Linked DNA regions of Homo sapiens: all the other regions are linked to region 5. The links are contacts of gene promoters, found by promoter capture Hi-C in blood cells and fetal thymus (Javierre and others, 2016). All regions are on one chromosome and are shown on one strand. The core of a region is centred on a gene start or on the middle of the fragment in contact, and the rest is flanking DNA. Distances in the headings are between cores, read along the strand shown. Region 1 holds the start of MAP3K19 (mitogen-activated protein kinase kinase kinase 19). Region 2 holds the start of KYNU (kynureninase). Region 3 has its middle 17 kb from the start of ARHGAP15. Region 4 overlaps LOC105373652 (a long non-coding RNA gene). Region 5 holds the start of SPOPL (speckle type BTB/POZ protein like). Region 6 holds the start of CCNT2-AS1 (CCNT2 antisense RNA 1).

The links. The method cuts DNA at HindIII sites, captures the fragments that hold promoters and counts their contacts. A CHiCAGO score of 5 or more calls a contact.
Region 1: the fragment with the promoter of MAP3K19 here is called in contact with the fragment with the promoter of SPOPL in region 5 in 1 of 17 cell types (total B cells); the score reaches 8.6 in total B cells.
Region 2: the fragment with the promoter of KYNU here is called in contact with the fragment with the promoter of SPOPL in region 5 in 3 of 17 cell types (total B cells, M1 macrophages and M0 macrophages); the score reaches 12.3 in total B cells.
Region 3: a contact is called between a fragment that was not itself captured here and the fragment with the promoter of SPOPL in region 5, in 1 of 17 cell types (naive B cells). The highest score is 6.4, in naive B cells.
Region 4: a contact is called between a fragment that was not itself captured here and the fragment with the promoter of SPOPL in region 5, in 2 of 17 cell types (total B cells and M0 macrophages). The highest score is 9.7, in total B cells.
Region 6: the fragment with the promoter of CCNT2-AS1 here is called in contact with the fragment with the promoter of SPOPL in region 5 in 6 of 17 cell types (total B cells, non-activated CD4 T cells, total CD4 T cells and 3 more); the score reaches 11.3 in total B cells.

What each region holds. Positions count from the first base shown.
Region 1 is chr2:135,045,225-135,049,082 of GRCh38, forward strand. MAP3K19 (mitogen-activated protein kinase kinase kinase 19) reads right to left here and starts at 2,223. Exons shown (of 13, transcript NM_025052.5): 1 at 1,961-2,223. The HindIII fragment of the contact is 2,914 bases long and covers 1-2,635 here.
Region 2 is chr2:142,876,409-142,879,772 of GRCh38, forward strand. KYNU (kynureninase) reads left to right here and starts at 1,256. Exons shown (of 14, transcript NM_003937.3): 1 at 1,256-1,328. The HindIII fragment of the contact is 4,288 bases long and covers 1-1,331 here.
Region 3 is chr2:143,110,232-143,113,811 of GRCh38, forward strand. No RefSeq gene overlaps it. Among named protein-coding and RNA genes, the nearest start is that of ARHGAP15, 17 kb to the right of the region's middle. The HindIII fragment of the contact is 563 bases long and covers 1,723-2,285 here.
Region 4 is chr2:142,860,094-142,863,620 of GRCh38, forward strand. It overlaps LOC105373652 (a long non-coding RNA gene), which reads right to left. Exons shown (of 5, transcript XR_923389.3): 5 at 2,772-3,005. Among named protein-coding and RNA genes, the nearest start is that of KYNU, 16 kb to the right of the region's middle. The HindIII fragment of the contact is 1,619 bases long and covers 513-2,131 here.
Region 5 is chr2:138,500,053-138,503,430 of GRCh38, forward strand. SPOPL (speckle type BTB/POZ protein like) reads left to right here and starts at 1,718. Exons shown (of 11, transcript NM_001001664.3): 1 at 1,718-2,067. SPOPL-DT (SPOPL divergent transcript) reads right to left here and starts at 1,643. Exons shown (of 2, transcript NR_187149.1): 1 at 1,267-1,643; 2 at 1-828. RefSeq lists silencers at 1,614-2,153, 2,354-2,403. The HindIII fragment of the contact is 5,215 bases long and covers 1-3,378 here.
Region 6 is chr2:134,916,246-134,920,091 of GRCh38, forward strand. It overlaps CCNT2-AS1 (CCNT2 antisense RNA 1), which reads right to left and starts at 2,361. Exons shown (of 5, transcript NR_036549.1): 1 at 2,318-2,361. CCNT2 (cyclin T2) reads left to right here and starts at 2,577. Exons shown (of 9, transcript NM_058241.3): 1 at 2,577-2,767; 2 at 3,565-3,646. The coding sequence starts at 2,610. RefSeq lists enhancers at 1,487-1,536, 1,546-2,219, 2,297-2,456, 2,607-2,876, 3,087-3,176 and a silencer at 2,217-2,286. The HindIII fragment of the contact is 7,926 bases long and covers 1-3,846 here.

The sequences.
Region 1 (3,858 bases), core at 973-3,472, 3.5 Mb before region 5:
AGAGAAGCAGACGTTTAGTTGATTGCTGTCACTTAATCATCATTATCTTAATCATTAGCATTTAATAAGCAGTGTACTTGGAACCTTACTAAGGGCGGAAGGGGCAGATGATATACTCAAAATCAGGACACAGAAATAATTAAAACCAATACACACATCTGTCCCAGTAAATTGCTTTGTAACTTAGATTTACATACTTGTTTTTGAAAATGCAACAGTATTTGCAGGATCATTTCAGGGGGAAAAAAGGTTTTCCGAAACAAAGGATAATTAAAACTTGTCTTTCAATAAAGCTAAAAATCAGATATTCAAATAACAACTAGGCAAGAAATAGATATTTATATCACACTTTATTCATAAAGTACTAATAAAACTTCAAACATTTTTCCCCCAAGGTTATTACCTAGCAATGTTATGGAGTTGTAATTTAACTTTTTAATGTGACCCTTAAGGGAGAGCATTTCATAAGTAGTATCTATCATCTAAAATAAAACAAAAAAATTTAGATTTAACTAAACTACAATCCCAAAATTATCAAATCAAATCACTGCAATACCGGGTAATGTGGTCATTATTTGGCCATTTATTGTCTCACATACTCAATAGAGACTGGAGGAAGACAATGAAGATGGAATGAGCACATAGCATTATCCCTATATGCAGGTCATTCTTTTAGTTAACATGCACAGACCATGGCTTTTAAAAATTATTTTTATTAGAGATGGGGTCTCACTCTCTCATCCAGGCTGGAGTACAGCAGCTTGATCATAGCTCACTGCAGCCTCAAACTCCTAGGTTTAAGGGATCCTCCCACCTCAGCCTCCCAGATAACTAGGGCTACAGGTGCACAGCACTATGCCCCGCTAGTTATTTTTATGTTTTATTTTTGTAGAGACAGAGTCTCACTATGTTGCCCAGGCTTAGTCACAAACCCACAGTGCTTTTTATTATTGAGCTCTATTTCCTCTTCCAACCTTCAATCTGTACATGTCCATTTTAGGTTTTTTTCATAAGAAAATATTTCTCAATTTTCCATTTAGAATTGTTGTTGTTATTGTTGTTGTTGTTGTTGTTACAGAGTCTCCCTCTATCGCCCAGACTGGAGTACAGTGGCACAATCTCGGTTCACTGCAACCTCCGCCTCCTAGGTTCAAACAATTCTCCTGCCTCAGCCTCCCAAGTAGCTGGGATTACAGGCACCTGCCACCTTGCCGGCTAATTTTTGTATTTTAGTAGAGACAGGGTTTCACCATGTTGGGCAGGCTGGTCTCGAACTCCTGACCTCAGGTCATCCACCCTCCTTGGCCTCCCAAAGTGCTAGGATTACGGGCATGAGCCACCATGCCCGCCCCATTTAGAACTGTTTTGGTCAATGATTTTTGAGGAATAGTGTTTCATTCCACAGAGGTTTTTAGTTTAGCATCTATTAAAACCCAGTCTTTTTTATTTTTAATTGCATGCATGGTTTATCTATTTGTAAAACCAAAACCTTTTGTTATAGTGTACATTTGATTTAGAACCTTATGCAATAAAGATTTAAAGCAACAGAAATCTCATTTCATGTTGAGAAAGCATGGTTAAGAACATATGTATACAATATTGATTGGTTACAAGAAGATTCATACCATGTAAAGTTTACACATATTTGGGTGATTAAACTAAAAGATTACCCCTAGGTATAATTCAATGAAGGCAAGTGTTTTTCATACACTTTTCTTGTCATTAGTAATTTAGCCTATGGTCTAGAGGTGCCTGCATAAGTATTGGAGGAAATCGTCACAATATTTGAAAAGTAAAAAATAGTTTATTACAACTCCAAGGATATTATTATTTGAGATTAGGACACAGTTTCTTCTATCAGTTTACCAGGCATTCCTCCTCTGGGACATCCTTTGGGGAGTAAAAAAGTTGCAACATACAGTTTATCTAAAATGAGATGAAAAGCAGAGATTCGGCTTACCTGTGCTGTGTTTTGCTGAGGGACGTGGCACACAGTTGAAGAAACACCAAGCCAAACAGTAGCCAACATCATCCTAATTCATTGTGGCACTGATTTCTGGGACAGCTGTAACCCACACTTCAACCAGGGATCCATTTAAAAACAGCATAGATTCAGATTTTTTTTTCAGTGTTGTACAGCCCAAATAATTTTTCCTTTTAAATTTTGTCTTTAATTAAGCTGGTCCTGCATGCACAAACCCTTTAGTTAGCTGCAAATAGACTGCTTAGTTTACAGGTTGTCTCCTAGGCAACCATCCACTGTGCATTTAGCTTAGAGAATTGAAAGCAGGACAGTCTCATCCAGGAAGGAAAACAAGTTTTGTATGCTCTTCCAAGTTGTTGCTTAAGTGCTTTAAAACTACCAAACCCCTATGTACTTCCATGGTTGGCACAATTACTGTGATCACCTGATGCACTGAGACTTTCTCTAAGAGATCCATGCCTTTGTAATCCCCACAAGGTGCCAGAAGGGCCCCTTTCAAAGCTGCATATAGGTCACAGAGTGAGAATCCAATCGATTACCACCAAACTGATTGCATTCTTAGACTCAGCCTTGAGAAAGCGCTAGCAGACAGAAATCCTTACATTACAACATACTTCTTCTCTAGATATGCTTGTGATATTCTGAAGCAAAAGCTTCAGTAAACAGACTGCATTTTTGTCTGAGTCCAGTGGTAATAAACCCAACTGCAAAAGACTTCAAATCATGGACTATGAAAACATAATCATGAGGAAGTGGACACAGGGCACTCCATAAGGTCACCCGGCATTTGTGTGCTGCTAAATTCTTTTCTGCCACTTACCAAAGGATGCAGGGGTTTCTCTTCTAAGGTAGGGCGTAACATTATATATTCTCAACTGAATGGGGTACGATATTCTATCGCAATAACAACAGCTGACATTTATTGACTAGTTCCTACGTTAGTCCATAAAGGACATGATTAATGTCATTTAACCCTCATAACAACTCTATGGAGTTGAAACAATAAACAGCATCATTGCCACGTTACAGAAGATGACACTGAGGCTTAGAACTTTTGAGCTAATGAATGGTGGAGCTAGGGATTGAACCTAAGCGGCCTGGCCACAATGTTGCAATACTACCTTTACCATGCGCAAGCACGTACACACACACACACACACACACACTCTCTCTCTCTCTCTCTCTCTCTCTCTCCTTTAGTGGATGAAGACTTCAGGGTAAAAACCATTCAGAGATTGTTAGATCTACGTAAACTCCCTCATTACCAATTCAACTTCAAGCTGCTTGACACCAATTTAAGCACACACAGGCTATTACTCTGTTTTGCTTCCTATGCTCTACTTTGCTTCTACTCCCATCAAGGTGAGTACTCTCTCAGCCTAACAGAGGAAGGTGCAAGTACCGTAGTTTCTGACTTTTAGGATTTCTGCCAGGTTATCCTAGGGTTCCAGCTTGTCTGCAATCCATGAATCTTTAAATTGGCTTCTCAAAAAGTAATCCTGGCCAGATGTGGTGGCTCACACCTGTAATCCTAGCACTCTGGGAGGTTGAGGTGGGTGGATCACCTTAGGTCAGGAGTTCCAGACCAGCCTGGCCAACATGGTGAAACCCCATCTCTACCAAAAATAAAAAAATTAGGCCAGGCGTGGTGGCTCACACCTGTAATCCCAGCACTTTGGGAGGCTGAGGTGGGTGGATCACGAGGTCAGGAGTTCGAGACCATCTTGGCTAACACGGTGAAACCCCGTCTCTACTGAAAATACAAAAAAAATAACCGGGTGTGGTGGCAGGCGCCTGTAGTCCCAGCTACTCGGGAGGCTGAGTCAGGATAATGGCGTGAACCTGGGAGGCGGAGCTTGCAGTGAGCCGAGATC
Region 2 (3,364 bases), core at 6-2,505, 4.4 Mb after region 5:
ATGAGGCATACACAGAATAGATGCAAAAAAAGTACACCTTCTGAAATTTCCTGAATGGATTCAAACTTTTACTATTCTAAGTTAATCAATTGGTAGTCTACTTACTTTATAGGATTATTGTAAGGATAGGATCAATGAAGTGAAATATATTTTATTTTCACTGGTCAATTACTCGTATTAAAGCAATTTCATGCACTTTATCTCCCTCTCTTGGAAACTGGAGAGTAGTACTTTTTGTCTGGTTACTTAAGATTAAAAAAAAGACAATATGTCACTTTTGACTTGAGTGTCATGGTATCTATGGCCTTCAACCTGCATGGTTTTATCGTTTCAGTAATCTTGGGAGGAAGGTATTATTAAGTTCATTTGATAAATAGGAGACTGAGCCTCCACAAGGGTTAAGTGAATTGCTCAGGGTTATACAATGAACACTTGATAGAAATGATTAAATGACACTTTACTTGATTTGTTGTGGGTTACTAAATAAAGCATAGGTGTGCATAAGTCATTCAATTATTCAAGCACATTCTTCATCCCTAGTCCTAATATCGAAAGTCTTTGCTCTTAGTTTTTATAACTACAAGGATATTCATCAAAAGACCCAAGCTCAGGAATAAGCCTAAAGAGGTAGTCAGACTAGAACAAAAGACAATTCACAGACTTAAATGAATAATTTGCATTAATGAAGTTTGCCAGGCTAGTTTCCACTTGAATCTTCAGATCTTTCTTCCTTCATTGTCTTGTTAACTGTCCAGATTTATTACCTAGGAGTTTTTGAAAACTCACATATTAGGCAATAGAGTGTATTCTGGAATTGAGAGCCTATTTTAAACTTTTGACTAAAAAGTTTACCCATTAAATGTCATAGATTCAACCATCAGACTGAAAATCCTCAGTGTATTTGAAGGAGGGTATTGTCTCAAAAATCCAGAGCTCAAAGTGAAGAAGAAAGGCAAAATTTGGAATTTAGCTCTAAGACCAACTCATCAGTTCAGGGGTCAGAGATTTATATAGTTAAAGGACAAGTGTGTGTTTACCTGAGTTTAAAGAGCAAAGTTGCCTCTGGAAAGAAGCCCTCACTGGAGGCTCTGGCATTTGAAATGGTGGGCAGGAGCACATGTTGCTTAAATTTCTGACAGTGGCTGGAGATTACCGATTGGTTAGGGGAGAGGAAGTAAAGTAAAATATTTATAAATTCTCCACTGGGTGGAGTCTGAGCAGTTCTTTGAATTTCTCACCCTAAGATCTGGCCTGTACATTTTCAAGGAATTCTTGAGAGGTTCTTGGAGAGATTCTGGGAGCCAAACACTCCATTGGGATCCTAGCTGGTAAGCTTGAGGCGCTGATAAAAACTCTCTACCCTAATGTTTACTCCATGTTTTTTCCAAATGAAACTTCTGTCAGCTAGAATCCTTGTCATAGTGTTTTAGAGGTTTTTTTCTGCTACTCTCTTCTTTTTTTATATATATTCTTTTTGTAAATAAAAATGGTATGACCTTCCTAAAGGCCCCACCTTTAGAAATGGGTTAAATGAAAAGATCTTTACTAATGTAATAGAAAAGAACTGATGAACATAGTGCACTGAATATGGTTACATTTGACAAACCAAAGTTAGTCCTGTTCTTATTTGAGTTTAAGCGGTAAGATTAGGTCAAACTCCAGACGAGGGAAAGATATTCTTAAACAGATTTTAAGTCCTCTGTTTTCTGGTAACTTTAATTGTCTTATGCTGCTAGTAGTCATATTAAATATTTATTTAGAGAAGTGAAAATGCCTACTCTTGAACAGAGTTTCTTCCCCTTTCATTTTATGAAACCTAAGAAAAGAAAGTTGATACACTTTTTAAAAATATACTAGATTTTCTTTTTTCCTTTCTGCTTTTATTTTGAGGCCAGTGGGGTGTTATTTAGTAGTAACACTGAAGCAAATGTATTGATTTTCTTAACGTGTTCAGCAAGTAATTCATATCCTAGATATGAAATATACACTCGTAGCAGAGTAATGTTACCCATTTCTCAATGATATGCTTAAAGAATCTTGCTCAATATGCATATTGTTTTTCCTTTTTTCTTTACTAATGAAAAACTACACGCTTTCTCAACATATTTTTAAGTCAGGTTCTAAACTTTGAACTCCTATGTACAATTTGCTTATTTCAGGCATGAATGTGAAACTGTGTAAAGATTAACTACCAGACACTCAGTCATTTATTTAACTATTTAGCCCTAAATCAGTGGGTGACTAGGAGATTCTGAATTCTGTGATTTCGTTAAAATCAATCAGTTTTTAATTATTATACAAGCTTTTTACTTTAAAGTTGTAGCTGTCTAAATAAAATTGTGAAAGCACAATTTCCAAACCTAAATCGAAGGCACATTGATGCTGTCCATCAGAAGGTATTGATAATTTAAAAAAATATTACAAACTATCTTTTATCTTTTTATAAAGGACCTAATGTCATTTGAGCTTAACCATAATCCTTTGAAGAAAGTAAAATTTAACTTTAAATAACATTGACATACAGAGCAGTTAGGTGATTTGTCTGAGACCATATGGTATGTATGTCCCCCGTCTTGATAAAATTAACACTAAATATGTAACATTTGAAAATTTGTAAAATATGTAAAAGTTGAAGTTTTTAAAAGTTTGGATTTAAGTTCTTCCTTTCAGAATATGAGCATGTCACTTTATTTGCAAACTAAACATGGCATAACATTATGGCTTGTGAACACTAATTGTCTTAGCTGCTGGGGTGAATGCAGAATTAAGCAGCAATTAGTATGAGTGAATAAATTGCATCCTTAGAGTGAGTGCACTATGCTATTCTGGGAACTAAAGACTATATTTGAGACCATGCGAAGTTGTGCAAGTGGTGGAGTAGGGCAGGGTGCAGTCATTTGGAAGACTATGCCCATCAGGTATCTCAAGGTACCCCAGATGTGACAGGCCCAGGAGCGGAACCAGCCACTTTAACTTTTGCCTGGCTGAAACTGGACTGGGAAGGATGGATTAAAAAGGTAAATCAATTCATACGTAGCTTGTGGTCCTTTGCAGCTTAAGTGTAGGACTGAAAAAAGAAGCCAAAGAAAAAGGGAATGAGCTGAAGAAATACACACACGTACACACACACATCAGGAAGCAACAGGCAAGGAAAAATAAAGTGAGAGGTTCAAGGCTTCGAGGAGGAATTGAGCTCTGTGCATTCCATTCATGGGCTTTGCCAAAGACCAGCACAATGGACTCAGCATCTCAGGCATGGTTAAGTACCCTACTGTGCACTCTGCTATCCTTTTAGTCCACTGGTTTCTACTCTGTCTGTGCCAGGTTTTCATCTCAATATAGAGGAAAAGGATTCTGATGCCTC
Region 3 (3,580 bases), core at 754-3,253, 4.6 Mb after region 5:
TAGTTAATTAAATTAGGTACAGAAATGGAAAAGGAAAGAAAATCCAGATATTATTTAGTTTTCTGTAACTCTTTATAAAATTTGAAGTCTCTCAATGTCAACTTTTCATCATGACTTTATTTGCTAATGTCCTGGGACCATTCATATCAGAGTCTCCTTAACTCAAGGAGCATTGTAATATAAGAAGGGAGCTTGTAGAGCAAGCTGCTGGCCTTCTATTGTTTTGCCAGTCTAAATCTGCAGCATAGCCTGCTGGTGGGACTGGCACCAAGCCGGATGGGTACAAGGCTATAGTTGTTGTTTATGGGCAATGTCTCTTAATGATCAGTCATTGCCTATGCCTTACCAGTACTTAAATATTTTGTATATCACCCTTATCTGTTGGATCTGTTCATTGCCTTTGGGGCTAAATGAAAGAAGTAAATTATCTGAAACATAATCTCAAGTAAGCTGTACACAAGAAAATGGTAAATGCATTTTAAATATAGTAAATATTGCAATAAGTGAAACTCAGATATAAAAAGAATGGCATTAGTTCTCTACTATTCAATCTTTTGTCATGAAGTGGGCTAACTCAACCACAGGAAGCATGACTCAGGAGACAGTGTGTTCTACATTTCCAGTATTTTTTTCTGCCCAAATCTCTTCATATATGGCTGATCGAAGTAACCGAGTCTCCAACTAACTATAGAGCCATGTAACTGTGAGATTTCTGAATTTACAACCTCCCTACAGGAAGTACCAGGTGGCCACGAAAGGCAGCATGGTCCCCATCTCTAATTAAGCTAATGTAAACAAGTGCCACAAGATGGCGCCAAACCACAGATGAAACTGACGCCAATTTGGATTCTTTGGGTGGATGGATCTCCCAGAACTTCCAGCTGGCTAGATGACAGGATAGCCCTTGTGATTTCATTCATTAACCTTGCAATAATACAGTCTTAGGTTTTGCATGATTCTTTTTTATTATTTGGGTCTCATTTATCTTCTTTTAGAGGGATTGTACTATACAAATAAATAAAACAAGAGAGAGAGGAGATGGAGACACCGATCAGTAAAACCAAATAGGAAAGTTTGCATAATAAGATGTGGAAGAGACAGCAAGTTTGTTTGGACAGCCAAATGTCTACTAATTGTGAATGATGCCTATGATTAATTCTACAAACTGGAGAAGGGCTCAGCATTGATAATGCTATCAGTATTGGCAACATTTTCTTACTCTGTGACATTGCTTTGTATCAGCCAATATTTCAAGAAGTGTCTCCCTAAATTAAGTGAAATAATAAAAGTAGCCACAATCCATCCACCAAAATGGTATTTGTTAACACAGATAGTATGACGAATTTTTGATGGCTCTACTTTGATTTAAGAATAAAGAATGAGCACTTAGGAATGACATGATTTTAAACTGGACCTTGGCTTAACCACAGGATTTCACCTTCTTTTAACTCATTGATGTGTGCTTTTGTATACACATGCATCCATATATATATATATATATATATATGCTTATATATATATATGCTTATATATACACTTTTATGTAAACTCTAGACATACAGAGCTATTTTTTCATTAATAATGTAGGTTTTACTTGTTTATAGTTGAAGGTAGAGTATCTCACTAGATTTTGTATCGTCCTAGATTTTGTGATCTGTAAAGAAAAAAAAATCATACTGGTCACCTAAAATTAATACAACTTAATAATATAAAATTTACCTAAGCTTTCATTTTGGAGTCCAGAAACAGTGGCTTATCCATTAACCATTTTGCTCTTCTATGTTATGGAATCCCAATTTTCTTTTTGGCTGTCAGTGTGCCCAGCTTTTAAAAGACCACATTTATGAACTTTGTTTTCCTGGCCTATAGTGGTCTGTAACATAAAAGTAAAATTATTAAGTGAAACAACTAAGAGAGTGTTGTTTTGCTCATTTGCCTTTTATGCCCCCAAGGAACTCAGACATGAAGGCAGGAGCTAAGGCAGCTGTCTTGGCATCATGAGGGCAAAGATAAAGAGTCACAAACACCTGGACCCTTGCTATTCTAAGGCACTGAATCAGTGCCAGCAACGAACTAGTTTTAGATTCATTATGTAAGAAAAATAAACCCTATGTGTCTAAGCCACTGATATATTGCATTTTCTTTTGTAAGTAACTGAATACAATCCTAACTAATACAGAGAATAAATATCAATCATCTTTATATGATTGTCTTAAACATATAAGTGCGCTAAAACTAGATACCCATAAGTGTTTATTGAAATGAATTGAGCTAAGATTTTGCAAAGCTTTTTACAGCTGTAATGTTTCTAACTCAGTTTATAAGTAATGCTAATTTGAGCATTCCAAAAATGCAGTTAATTCAGTTATTATTTATTAGGCATTTACTACATGCCAGGCACTAAAGAAGATACTGGAGATACATATTGTAGACAATACAAAAAACCTACTTGATCTAATGGGGATGCACATTCTTGAAGAGGAAATGAAATGAATAAATAGAAAAATAAATAAAAAATTTAGTACCATGAAAAAGAAACAGAGAGACAAGATAGAAAATGTGGAACAAGATGTGACATTATATAAATAAGTTGAACAGTCAGTCAGAATTTCAAGCTGAAATTTGCAGAAACTAGCTATGGAAAATGTGGGAGCTGGGCATGAGGATGGGGTGCAGAGTCTCCGTAGCAAAGTAGACAGCTAGAGCAATGTCCTCCAGGAGGGAAGAGCTTGGCATATTTAATAACTGAAAGAAGAGATAGAGTGGGGACAGAGCAACACACAAAGGAGAGAATGCCTAATATGTTGTAAATGCTCAAGATATATTTGTAGAATAAACAAACATGACTACTGTAAAATAATTATGTCGATATAATTAATCAGTAATAATTAGGACTGAAGTTCAAAAAATACCATACGCTTAAATAGCTCTATTTTTGACTATAACTTACATTTTTTTTTCTTTTTCTTTCTTTTCTTTTATTTTTGAGATAGAAACATTGCCCTCAATCTTCCAGTGAGCCAATAAAGGTTTTACAATGAGTTAAGCATAGTAAGAAGATAGTATTGTTTCCCAAGAGCCACAATAGATTTTTTTTTATTGTATGGAAGGATAAATACATGTTTTCAGTTTACATAATCAAGCATATTTTAGAGAGTAAAAATGTAACTCAGCTGAAGAATCATTATCAGATTTTTTTTTAAACTGGAAACTTTCCCCCTGCCCCCAGCTGTCTACAGAAATAGATTATTTCTTCTAATTTTCTGATTTAGTTATAGTCATAGTGTACATAAAAACAGATTTGATTTTCTTGGAATCAAACATAAAATGAAAGCCAAGGCCTTATCATTGAAACAAGACAGCAGTTTTGCAAAGCTGTGTACATCCTTTGAACTCAGATGACATTGTCTCAGAGGAAAAGATGTTTGATGAGTTTTTTACACTTTAAAGCTCTTGCTAAGGAAAATGAGCTAGGAATCTCCTTTGGTAGAATTCAAGGGGGGTGGATCATTTCGTCTTCAAAAGATGAGGGGAAAAGTGTCATTTTCTATTTCCCTTAAGTATCATTCTTTCAAATACT
Region 4 (3,527 bases), core at 72-2,571, 4.4 Mb after region 5:
AGATACCCAAAGTTATCTTCCTTTCACTCTGTCACTCAGGCTGGTGTGCAGTGGTAGGATCTCAGCTCACTGCAACCTCGACCTCTCAGGCTCAAGCAATCCGTCCACCTCAGTCTCTGCACTAGCTGAGACTATGGGCATGCACCACAACGTCCAGCTAATTTTTTTTATTTTTTGTAGAGATGGCATTTTGCAGTGTTGCCCAGGCTGGTCTTGAACTCCTGGACTCAAGCAATCTGCCTGCCTTGGCCTCTCAAAGTGTTGGCATTACAGGAATGCACCACCACGCCAAGCCCAAAGTTAGCTTCTTTATTGTTGACTTTGTCTTAACCCATTGGATAAGCCTGATTTTACTATTTAAGGAGGCACTGAGAGCTTTTGAGGGGAGCTCTTCCAAAGACAAAATTCCTAGCACAGATCCTGGAAATTTGAATCAGAGACTCAGCTCAGTCCTAGAGCTCAAAGATAAGACCCCCAAGAGCTCATGCTGTAGGTATCTCTTGGATTTCCAAAGCTTGCCTGCATTCTTTAGATATTAGGTTGGTGCAAAAAGCCTTAAAAGCCTCAAGGAGGTCTGGTGAGACACTTTAAATAACTGATGTGGGAAAAAAACAATACAGATATATACCCAGGAGTAAAATTGCTGGGACATTGGGTATGTTCCTATTTAGTGTCAATAAACTGAATAAAGCTATTTATAATGGCTGTACTGGAACAGAGTGCAAAGTGGACTTCCTACTTTTCCACATTCTTTCCAGCTGTAAATATTATCTAAATTTTTAATTGTTAACAACATGATTCATATATTAAAATATTTCAGCATGCCTTTAACATGCACTTCTCTGATTTCTAAAGTGCCCATCTCTTTAAAAATGCATTAGCCATTCAGGTTTTCCCTTTGGGAATTGCTTATTTTAATTCCTTGGTCATTTTTCTATTGTGTCTTCTTTCTTCCCGAGGAGCTTCTTAAATATTCTAGATATAAATTTTTTCCTAATCTGTCACTTTCCTATTAACTGGGCCTATTATATCTCTACTTCAGTTTTCTGATTTGTAAAGTAGAAATAATCATACCTATAACTCTTTCTTTTTTTTGCCTCTAAGGATTAAATGAGATAATGAATGTGAAACACTAATACAACATCTGACACATAGTGAGGGTTCAATACCACCAGGGATTTATTAAGCCTCTTTCTTTTTTATATATACTTTAAGGTTAAGGGTACATGTGCACAATGTGCAGGTTAGTTACATATGTATACATGTGCCATGTTGGTGTGCTGCACCCATTAACTCGTCATTTAACATTAGGTATATCTCCAAATGCTATCCCTCCCCCCTCCCCCCACCCCACAACAGGCCCCAGTGTGTGATGTTCCCCTTCCTGTGTCCATGTGTTCTCATTGTTCAATTCCCACCTATGAGTGAGAACATGCGGTGTTTGGTTTTTTGTCCTTGCAATAGTTTGCTGAGAATGAGGGTTTCCGGCTTCATCTATGGCCCTACAAAGGACATGAACTCATCATTTTTTATGACTGCATAGTATTCCATGGTGTATATGTGCCACATTTTCTTAATCCAGTCTATCATTGTTGGACATTTGGCTTGGTTCCAAGTCTTTGCTATTGTGAATAGTGCCGCAATAAACATACATCTCCATGTGTCTTTATAGCAGCATGATTTATAATTCTTTGGGCATATACCCAGTAATGGGATGGCTGGGTCAAATGGTATTTCTAGTTCTAGATCCCTGAGGAATCGCCATACTGACTTCCACAATGGTTGAACTACTTTACAGTCCCACTAACAGTGTAAAAGTCTTCCTATTTCTCCACATCCTCTCCAGCACCTGTTGTTTCCTGACTTTTTAATGATTGCCATTCTAACTGGTGTGAGATGGTATCTCATTGTGGTTTTGATTTGCATTTCTCTGATGGCCAGTGATGATGAGCATTTTTTCATGTGTCTTTTGGCTGCATAAATGTCTTCTTTTGAGAAGTGTCTCTTTTCAAATTGAATTGATATTTTGTTGTACCTAGATATATGTATAAATTTAGGAAATTTAAGTTTAATCTAGATTTAAACTAAGTGGTTTTCCAGTAGCATATAAAATCTTAGGCTAGACACCTTAAGCTTAGCATGTAGACTACAGTGATAGACAAAGATGTGCTGGGAAATCAGGAGCCTTACTCTGTTCTTGAACCCACATTAGCCGGGCACTCCTGCCTGTGTGGGAAAGAGACCCTGTCCTTAAATCTGACCTCCCTTTCTGCATCAGGTACCTGACCTGCCGATGACAAAGGGATTCACAAAAGTACCCATTAAATCTATATGTTTATATTTTCAAAACTGTGACACTTTCATCATCATTACTCTACTCTAGCCCTTCCTGCAGGGTTTATTACCCAGGTTGTCAAAATATTTTGAAAAAGACATCGTGAAACACAACGTCTATGTTGTATCTGATTTCCTTTCCTGAAGAAAAACAAGCCTAGAAGGGAAAGGAAAAAAAATGTACTGCTAATATCATGATAGGGAGTAAAATAATTCATAAATTGATGAGTCAAGATGTGTTTTCTAAAATTTGCATTATAGATATTAGCAAACAGAGATAGATATGAAAGACAGTGGAGCAATTGGAATGTTTTTAAATGTGCATGGCATATTTTTTAGTAGAAAGTTTTCCTTTCAGTTGCTAAACAAATTCTCTAAACATTAAAAATATTTCAGAAGTTATCAGGAAATAATCATTAAAGTAAATTGCTAGTTGGTAAATTCCCACTCCAATGTCCATTCTTGGCTCTATTAATTCATACTCTAATCTTAGTTGGAGTCTTTACTAGCAAGGTGTCCTGGGGAGCATTTTATATTCACTTACTAAATCAGATTAGTCTAAGATGCACCTTTTCCCAGAACTGTGTACACTCAGCCGAGGTTGGTAGACAACATTTCATTCCTTAAAGATCATGCCAGGAGTATTCTGCCGAGGAAATGAAAGACCACATCTAGAAACAGAGGAAAAGAGTGAAGTGCGAGCTTTATTCGCAATGTCTGCAGTAAGTAAACGAGAGGGAGTAGGTTCATGTGTGTATACTCTGCTCTGGAACCCTCTCTGACTTCCCCAGGCAGAACAATTATTACATCTTGCCATTCCATGAGGATGTAATTTCAGAATATTTTGAAGGGCTCAATTCTAATCATGTTCTCTGGAGATCTAATAGAGTAAATATAAATATAAAATAATTACTTTTCTTGAAAGATTTCAGATCAGCTATGGACTTTTATTGCATTAATCAATAAATTCAATTAATTTATCAAGTAGATTACTAGATATTACAGATTTAGAAATTATACATATGCTAGGGTTTTCCAAACTGAGCTAACCCTCTTAATTCAATGGGCACTGTAAGTGTACTCATAATTGTTTTGTAAACCATATGTCAATAGACTCTATTCTCACAAACATAAAGGAAAGTGTCTCTTTTATTGCTTTGTACTGTAATTGTACTGTAGTCAAGACAGAGAGC
Region 5 (3,378 bases), core at 468-2,967:
ATTGCTAACGTAAGGTCAGGTGCTAATCCCAGCATTTTGGGAGGCAGAAGTGGGAGGATCACTTGAGGCCAGGAGTTTGAGCCCAGCCTGGGCAATATGGTGAGACTCTGTTTCTACTAAAAATACAAAAATTAGCCGGGCTCACGCCTGTAGTCCCAGATACTTGGTGGCTGAGGCACAGAATTGCTTGAATCTGGGAGGTGACCCAGGATCGCGCCACTGCACTCCAGCCTGGCGTACAAAGCGAGATCCTGTCTCAAACAAACAAAAAGAAAAAAGAAATAAAAAAGACAGCTAATGTAGTATTAATTTGAAATGAGGGGGATCTGCCTGTCCAGTATTCAAATCCCAGTAACCTCTGGATGAATTACTTGCCATTTCTAGTTCTTGTCGCTTAATTTTAAGATGGAAATTTCTACGTTGAAGTTTTAGAGAGGTTGTTGAGAGAACAGAGACGATACAAGTCCATGCTTAGAATACTCAGTACATAGCAAAATAATAAATATTTTCCCTCTGCCCTCTCTCTTTTCTTGGAAAGCCAGGTAAGCAATGAGAAGTTGGTTTATGGCCAGGTGTGGTGGTTCACGCCTGCAAATCCCAGCACTTTGGGAGACCAAGGTGGGAGGATCCCTTGAGCTCAGGAGTTCGAGATCTGCTTGGGCCACATAGCAAGACCTCGTCTCCACAAAAAATTAAGATTACCTGGGCGTGGCACATTCCTGTAGTCCCAGCTACGGGAGGCTGAGTTGGGAGGATCACTTTAGCCTAGGAGGTCGAGGCTGCAGTGAGCTGTGATGGCACCACTGCACTCCAGCCTGGGTGACAGCCCTGTCAAAAACAAAACAAAACAAAAATTGCTGACGTATGCACAGTTAAAGCAAAAAGAGTTGGGATCCTTGAATGACGTTCATGTCTGTTCTGGCAAAGCCGGGATTGTTGGTCCCCCAAACTTCTTTAAAGAAGTTTACTCCTGGTAGCTCGATTAAGTATCTTTGTCCCATGGCCGTGGGGAATAAAAAGTTCAGTTGTCACCCCCTTTTTAAACTAAATGTCCGAAGAGACAAGGCAATCCCATCCTCTCTTCACACATTTGTGCAGGTGCAGCTTTATTTCCCACCGTGCGGTCCCAGGAGGCCGCCTGGTCTTCTGCGCTCACTTCCTAGGCATCCCTGGCCGCCCCTCGGCAGCCTCTCCTTCTGGCCTGAGACTTCCAGCTGAGCCTCATCCCCTCCACCTGAAAACTGCTCCATGGGGCACTTCATCTACCTGGAAAGTTCTCGATTTCCAACTGGAGCCTGTATACTGCTGGTTGTGTCTCAGCAGTTATTACAGCTCTGGGCTTACAACGGGAGCTTAGCAAAAGTTCCACCCTGGCTTCCTAGACTGCTACAGCTCCAAGAAAAATCCTGTGCGCACAAACGGCCGCCGCCTTTGGCGTCTCCCGCGGATTAGACCAGTTAGGAGGTCTCAGTAGGCTTTTAGGCAGGACAAGTTTTACGCCTGGCCAAATAAGGGTCAGACTAAGCAAGGCGCCTCCGTGCGCCTAGCCAGAGCGGTGCCGGCTGCGGAACCTGCCCCGCCGGGAGCCTAGTGCCATGCAGCAGCGGCGGCGGTGGCGGCTTCCCAAGCGCGGCGGCAAATCCGGGCCCGCCCGGAAGTGCCCGGCGCTGTAGGAGGGAGCAAGGGCCCAGGAGCCGCCGCCGCCGCCGCCGCGCGCACGCGCCCTCGCGGGCTGGAGCCGGGGCTGGAGTCGTAACTCGGAAGCCGGAGCCCAGACGGGCCCGCGGCGGGGGGGTGGGGGCTGCGCGGGGGCGGGAGTGGCGGAGGTGGCCGCCCCTGGCGGCGGGTTTGTTTATCCCGGGGAAGAAGTTTAGGAGCGGGAGATAGGGAAGGAGGGCGGGTCGGGGAGGAGGGATGCGGTTCGGCGGAGGCGGCCGCCACAGGGACTTGCCGCCATCACCCCTGCTGCCACCACCGCAGCCTCGGGCTCCCAGGGCGGACACGGCCACCGCCTCAGCGGGAGAGGAGTCTCCACCAGGACTGACCGCTGCCGCCCAGCACGTCCAGGTAGGCGCCCCTTCCCCTCCCCCCAGTCCCCGCGGCAGCCCCAGGCGCTTGCTCCCCTCCCCCGGCTCTCCGTAGACCGGCGGCCTCCTGCTCGCGCCTCACTGCGCCCTCTGCTCTCTGGGTCCCGGACCCCTGCTCGGGCGGCGAGCTCCGGCCTGCTCTGGGGACTACCTCCCACGCCCCCGGACCGCCCTTCCCTCGCGCGGCGGCACCACTTTCCCCGGGGTTGCCCCCAATCCCTCCTTGATTTCCCAGCCTCCACCTTCCAGGATCCCCTTTAGTTTTACCCCCGGGCCTCGCCCCTTCTTTTCCTCTGGCTTCTCTCCTCCTCTATACCTGTATACCTCCACACCTGCCCCTTTTTACCTGAGTGCTGCCCAAAGGCAGAAACTGCATGCTCTGCCACCGCGCAGCGTCCACTTTCATACCTCCTCATCCCAAATACAGACACTTGAAACTCTCGTCCCTGTTAGCCCATTTTAGGCAGAGTTCTCAGCTTCGCAGACCGCTCACTACCTCCAGTCCGGTGGTCATGCCTTTAACCTCTCTTTAACCTGCTTTCTAATACATTTTTGCTCACTTATACCAGAGTACATCAAGCTAACCGCGCGGTTCGGGGTCCAAGTCTTCAAAGAGCCCACTTGTATTCCTGCTGCTCTCCTTTTTCCTAATTCTTTTTGAGTCAATGTATTTGTATATTGATTCAACATAAAAGAAAAGGGAAGGTAGCATTTTCTCTCTCAAAGCAGTCACACAACCCAGTAGAAATAAGATTCACCATCTGCTTATCCTAACTTTCGCTTGTCTCTTTCCTGACTGAACTCTGTCATTCAGTGATTCTTTCCAGGCTTCTGATGCTTTGTCTATTTTTGAATAATCTTGGGCCTAGTTTGACCCATTGTGGTACTCACTTTCCCACTTGCAATTGAATCCACTGTTTCTTGGACTAGAAACTGACAGAGGTAAAAGGTTCATACCTTGAAAAATTACATCTCTCCTGCCACGATGAGATTGGTGGAATATTTCAAATTACCATTTCATCATTCTTGTGAGAAATGTTGCCTAGTGGTTAAGAACTCTTCTCTAGAGCTCAGACTAGTATATAGTTGCCAGGGTGTAAACCCTTGCTCTGCCATCTACCAGCTTTGGCTTTGGGGAAGTTACTTAATATTTCTTCGCCTCAGTATACTTACAGCTGTAAAATGGGGTTATGATATGACATCACAGGATGGTGCTAGTAATTGCACAAGTAAATACAAGTAAAGTACTTAAAACAGTACCTGGCACAGGGCAAATATCTGATAAATGCTA
Region 6 (3,846 bases), core at 1,111-3,610, 3.6 Mb before region 5:
CAGGCATGCACTACCGCACCCAGCTAATTTTTGTATTTTTAGTAGAGACAAGGTTTCCCCATGTTGGCCAGGCTGGTATTGAACTCCTGGCCTCAAGCAATCTCCCACCTTGGCCTCCCAAAGTGCTGGGAGTATAGGTGTGAACCACTGCGCCCTGCCTAGATCCATATCTAAGTACAGGTTGAGTATCCCTAAATCTGAGAATCAGAAACACTCCAAAACCCAAAACTTCAAGCCCCCACATGACATTCAAAGGAAATGTTCATTGGCGCATTTCAGATTTAGAATTTTTGGATTAGGATGCTCAATGGCTAAGTTTATAATTCAAATATTTCAAAACCTAAAAAAACCTGAAATCCAAAACACATCTGGTCTCAAGCATTTCAGATACGTGATACTCAACCTGTATTACTTTGGGAGACGGTACTATTGTAAATGGCATTTTTAAATTATAAATTCCAATTGTTCATTGCTGGTGTATAGGAAAACTGACTTTTGTATTCAACCTTATATCCTAAAATTTTACAGAAGAAGTTTTATGTCTTCCTTCCCAATATGTATATACTTTTAATTTACTTTTCTTGTTAGCTAGAACACCCAGTACCACGTTGAAAAGACTGGTGAGAGGGGACATGCTTGCCTTGTGTCAGACTTTAGGTGGAAAGAATGTAGTTTCTCACAACAGAAACAATCTATTGTTAGCTGCAGAATTTTTGTAGATGCTCTTTATCAAGTTGAGGAAGTTCTCCTTTATTCCCAGTTTGCTGAGTTTTTATCATGAATGGATGTTGAGGATGGGCACTTCTTTTATTTGTGTGTGTGTGTGACAGGATCTCACTCTGTCACCCAGGCTGGGGTGCAACCTCACCTCTCAGGTTGAAGCGATACTCCCAAGGAGCTAGGACTACAGACGCCACCACATCCAGCTAATTTTTTAAAAAACTTTTGTAGAGGTGGGGTCTCATTATGTTGCCCAGGCTGGTCTAGAACACTTTGGCCTCCCAAAGTGCTGGGATTACAGCCGGGAAACACTGCACCTGGCCAAGGGTTTGCACTTTTAAAATGTTGCTTTAAATCAATCTATTCCAGAAATTGTAAGCAACATAAAACGTAAAGCAAGGGAAGTGAGTATGAAATAGCAACTGTTACAAAAACTGCCTACTATAATCAATATTCTTGTGCAATGCAGTATGCTGAGCGTGGGAGCCCCATAACAATCACTTGCCTCCATGGTCTTTGGCAAATAGATATTACTTTATTTTTTATTTTCGAGACAAGGTCTTGCACTATCGCCCAAGCTGGGGTGCAGCAGCGAGATCTAGCTCACCGCAGCCTCCACCTCCTGGGCTCAAGCCATCCTCCCACTTCAGCCTCGGGAGTAGCTGGGACTACAGGCGCGCCACCAAACCTGGCTAATTTTTGTATTTTTGGTAGAGACGGGGTATCGCCATGTTGCCCTTGCCCTCGAACTCCTGACCTCAAGTGATCGGCCCACTGGACCTCCCCAAGTGCTGAGATTACAGGCGTGAGCCACCGTGCCCGGCCTCCAAATAGTTAAGACTTTAAACTTAGAAACCCTATTCACAACACAAACTCCGAGTGAAGCTCAGTGGCATTTTCTTACAGGAAGAAATACAGGAGTTAATCAACAGGTATGTGGGATGTTCCCACATCAAATCCTAAAGATAAAATTTTAACTCAGTTCCTCCTGCACTATCTGATTCTCCCCAACCTTGTCTCGCAGAAACCACAGCGCAGCCTGAAAACACGCCCCGTCTAGATTCAACACCTCATTTAGAAATTCAATTTCTCGTTGCTAGTTGGATAGCGTTTGCCAAGTAATTTGAAAAAATAAAAATAAACCAAGTGGTCTGGGATTTAAACAAGATAATGTAGGGTGAAAAAAGCACTCAGGTGCGGACAGCCATGGAGCGTGACTTCCTGTGCACTCTTTCCCCGCCAGCTCAACGCCAGAGCCGCGCGCTAGGCGGAGACTGTTGGTGGCGGAGGCCGGAGTCGCACGCCTACGAGACTGCGCGGACCCGCCCAAAAGGAAAATGGAAGTAGTGGCGTGAGGCTGCGACAGTGAAGGTTATTTTTCTCTTTTTAAAGGGCCGCTAGACCTCCCGTCTAAAGGAAGCGCCCGACGGGCCTCCGAAGTACACGCCCAGGCCCCCACAGCGCAGCCGCCCGACCGCCTCTCTTCACACCGGCCAGAGTCCACCCTCTCCCACTTTCCCCTCCCCTCCCCTCCCCGCCCCTTCCCTCCCCACCCCTTCGCCCCGCCAACCCTAGACCCGGCATGCGCTGCGCCGACCTTTTCCTTCCGAGCCGACCTCTCCACCTTCGGCGCCTCCCAATGACAAGCGGCGCGGAGCATTGTGGTCCCGTGCGCAAGAGCGAGGCCGAGGGCAGAAAAAGAAAGCAAAAGACTAGGGCGAGTCGGTAGAGCGGGCCCCGCGCATGCGCAAGGGCGGAGGCGGTGGTGAAAAAGGGTGGTGCGTGGTCTACGGCGAGCGGAGTGGGGCGGGGTCGCGCGCCTTGGCGGGGAGTCCGCGAGCCAGGAGGGGCGGGGGGTGAATGAAGGAGCGGGCGGAGGAGGAAGTGTCATGGCGTCGGGCCGTGGAGCTTCTTCTCGCTGGTTCTTTACTCGGGAACAGCTGGAGAACACGCCGAGCCGCCGCTGCGGAGTGGAGGCGGATAAAGAGCTCTCGTGCCGCCAGCAGGCGGCCAACCTCATCCAGGAGATGGGACAGCGTCTCAATGTGTATCCTTTTCTGTTCGCCGCCGCTCACGCCCTGTTTCCCTTGCCCGGTCGCCGGGCCTGGTGCCCCGCGAACATGGCGCCGCCGGCCTCGGCCTTCGCTGGGCCTCGGCGCCGCGGTCAGGGAAGTAATGTTCCGGCTCGGGCAGTCGCGAGGGGTCAGCAGAGGAAGGGAGGAGGAGATAGGACCCCAGGAATGCGGGCCAGGAGCCTGCGTTGTGTAATCTGTTTGGGGCAGCGCGTGGTGGTGGCGGCGGGGGTTGGGAGTGTGGCTCAGGCGAAAGAGGAATTTTAGGGATTATTGCAGAAAAGGGGCGGCTCCCTGGACTTGTCCCTGACCCCGAAGGGTTTGAGAGGTAGGAGGGTTAGCGATGCTGAAAGGCCTAAGTGTTTGCCGCAGCCTTTCCCGGCTCTCGTCGCCGGCTTGATGGCGGCTCTCTTCTACCTTGGGAGCGTACTGGAGTTCTTTATGTTCTTGGCGTGGTTTTGTATGGGTGTGTGCGCGCGCGTTTCAACTGTTTCATTTTGAGTTTAGTTAGTCGTAGCCATTGATAAATAGTTCCAGGGCCCTCAGCGCTGTTAGAGTGAAAAGATCAGCAGTTCTTATTCCCATTTATTTGGCGTCAAGCCTATTCTCTTCCTGCCGCCCCACCCCCCGCGGGCATTTATTTCTTTATTTCCAGTTTGGGGTTTGGATTTGAATGGGAGGTATTGGAAAAGAACCTGGGAATTTTCCATCAAAATTGTTCTGGGAATGAGATCTTGCTTTTGTCAGATATTTCCTAAATATTACGTTCCAGCTCTCAGCTTACAATAAACACTGCGATTGTTTATATGCACAGGTTTTATATGCACCATTCTTTCACCAAATTCAACAAAAATGTAAGTACTAGTTGTCTGTTTTTACTGTCCGCAAATTTGAGGGTAAATCGATACGCAGAAAAAAAGTTGGTCATTGCGTTGTTGGATTTAGTGTTCTGAATTAACGGTAAACGTATATCACGTGATAAATATTTTGCTTCAGATGCGGTGTTTTTGTGTTTTTAAAATTTATGATGAATTAAACTGCAAGGCACTGTTAA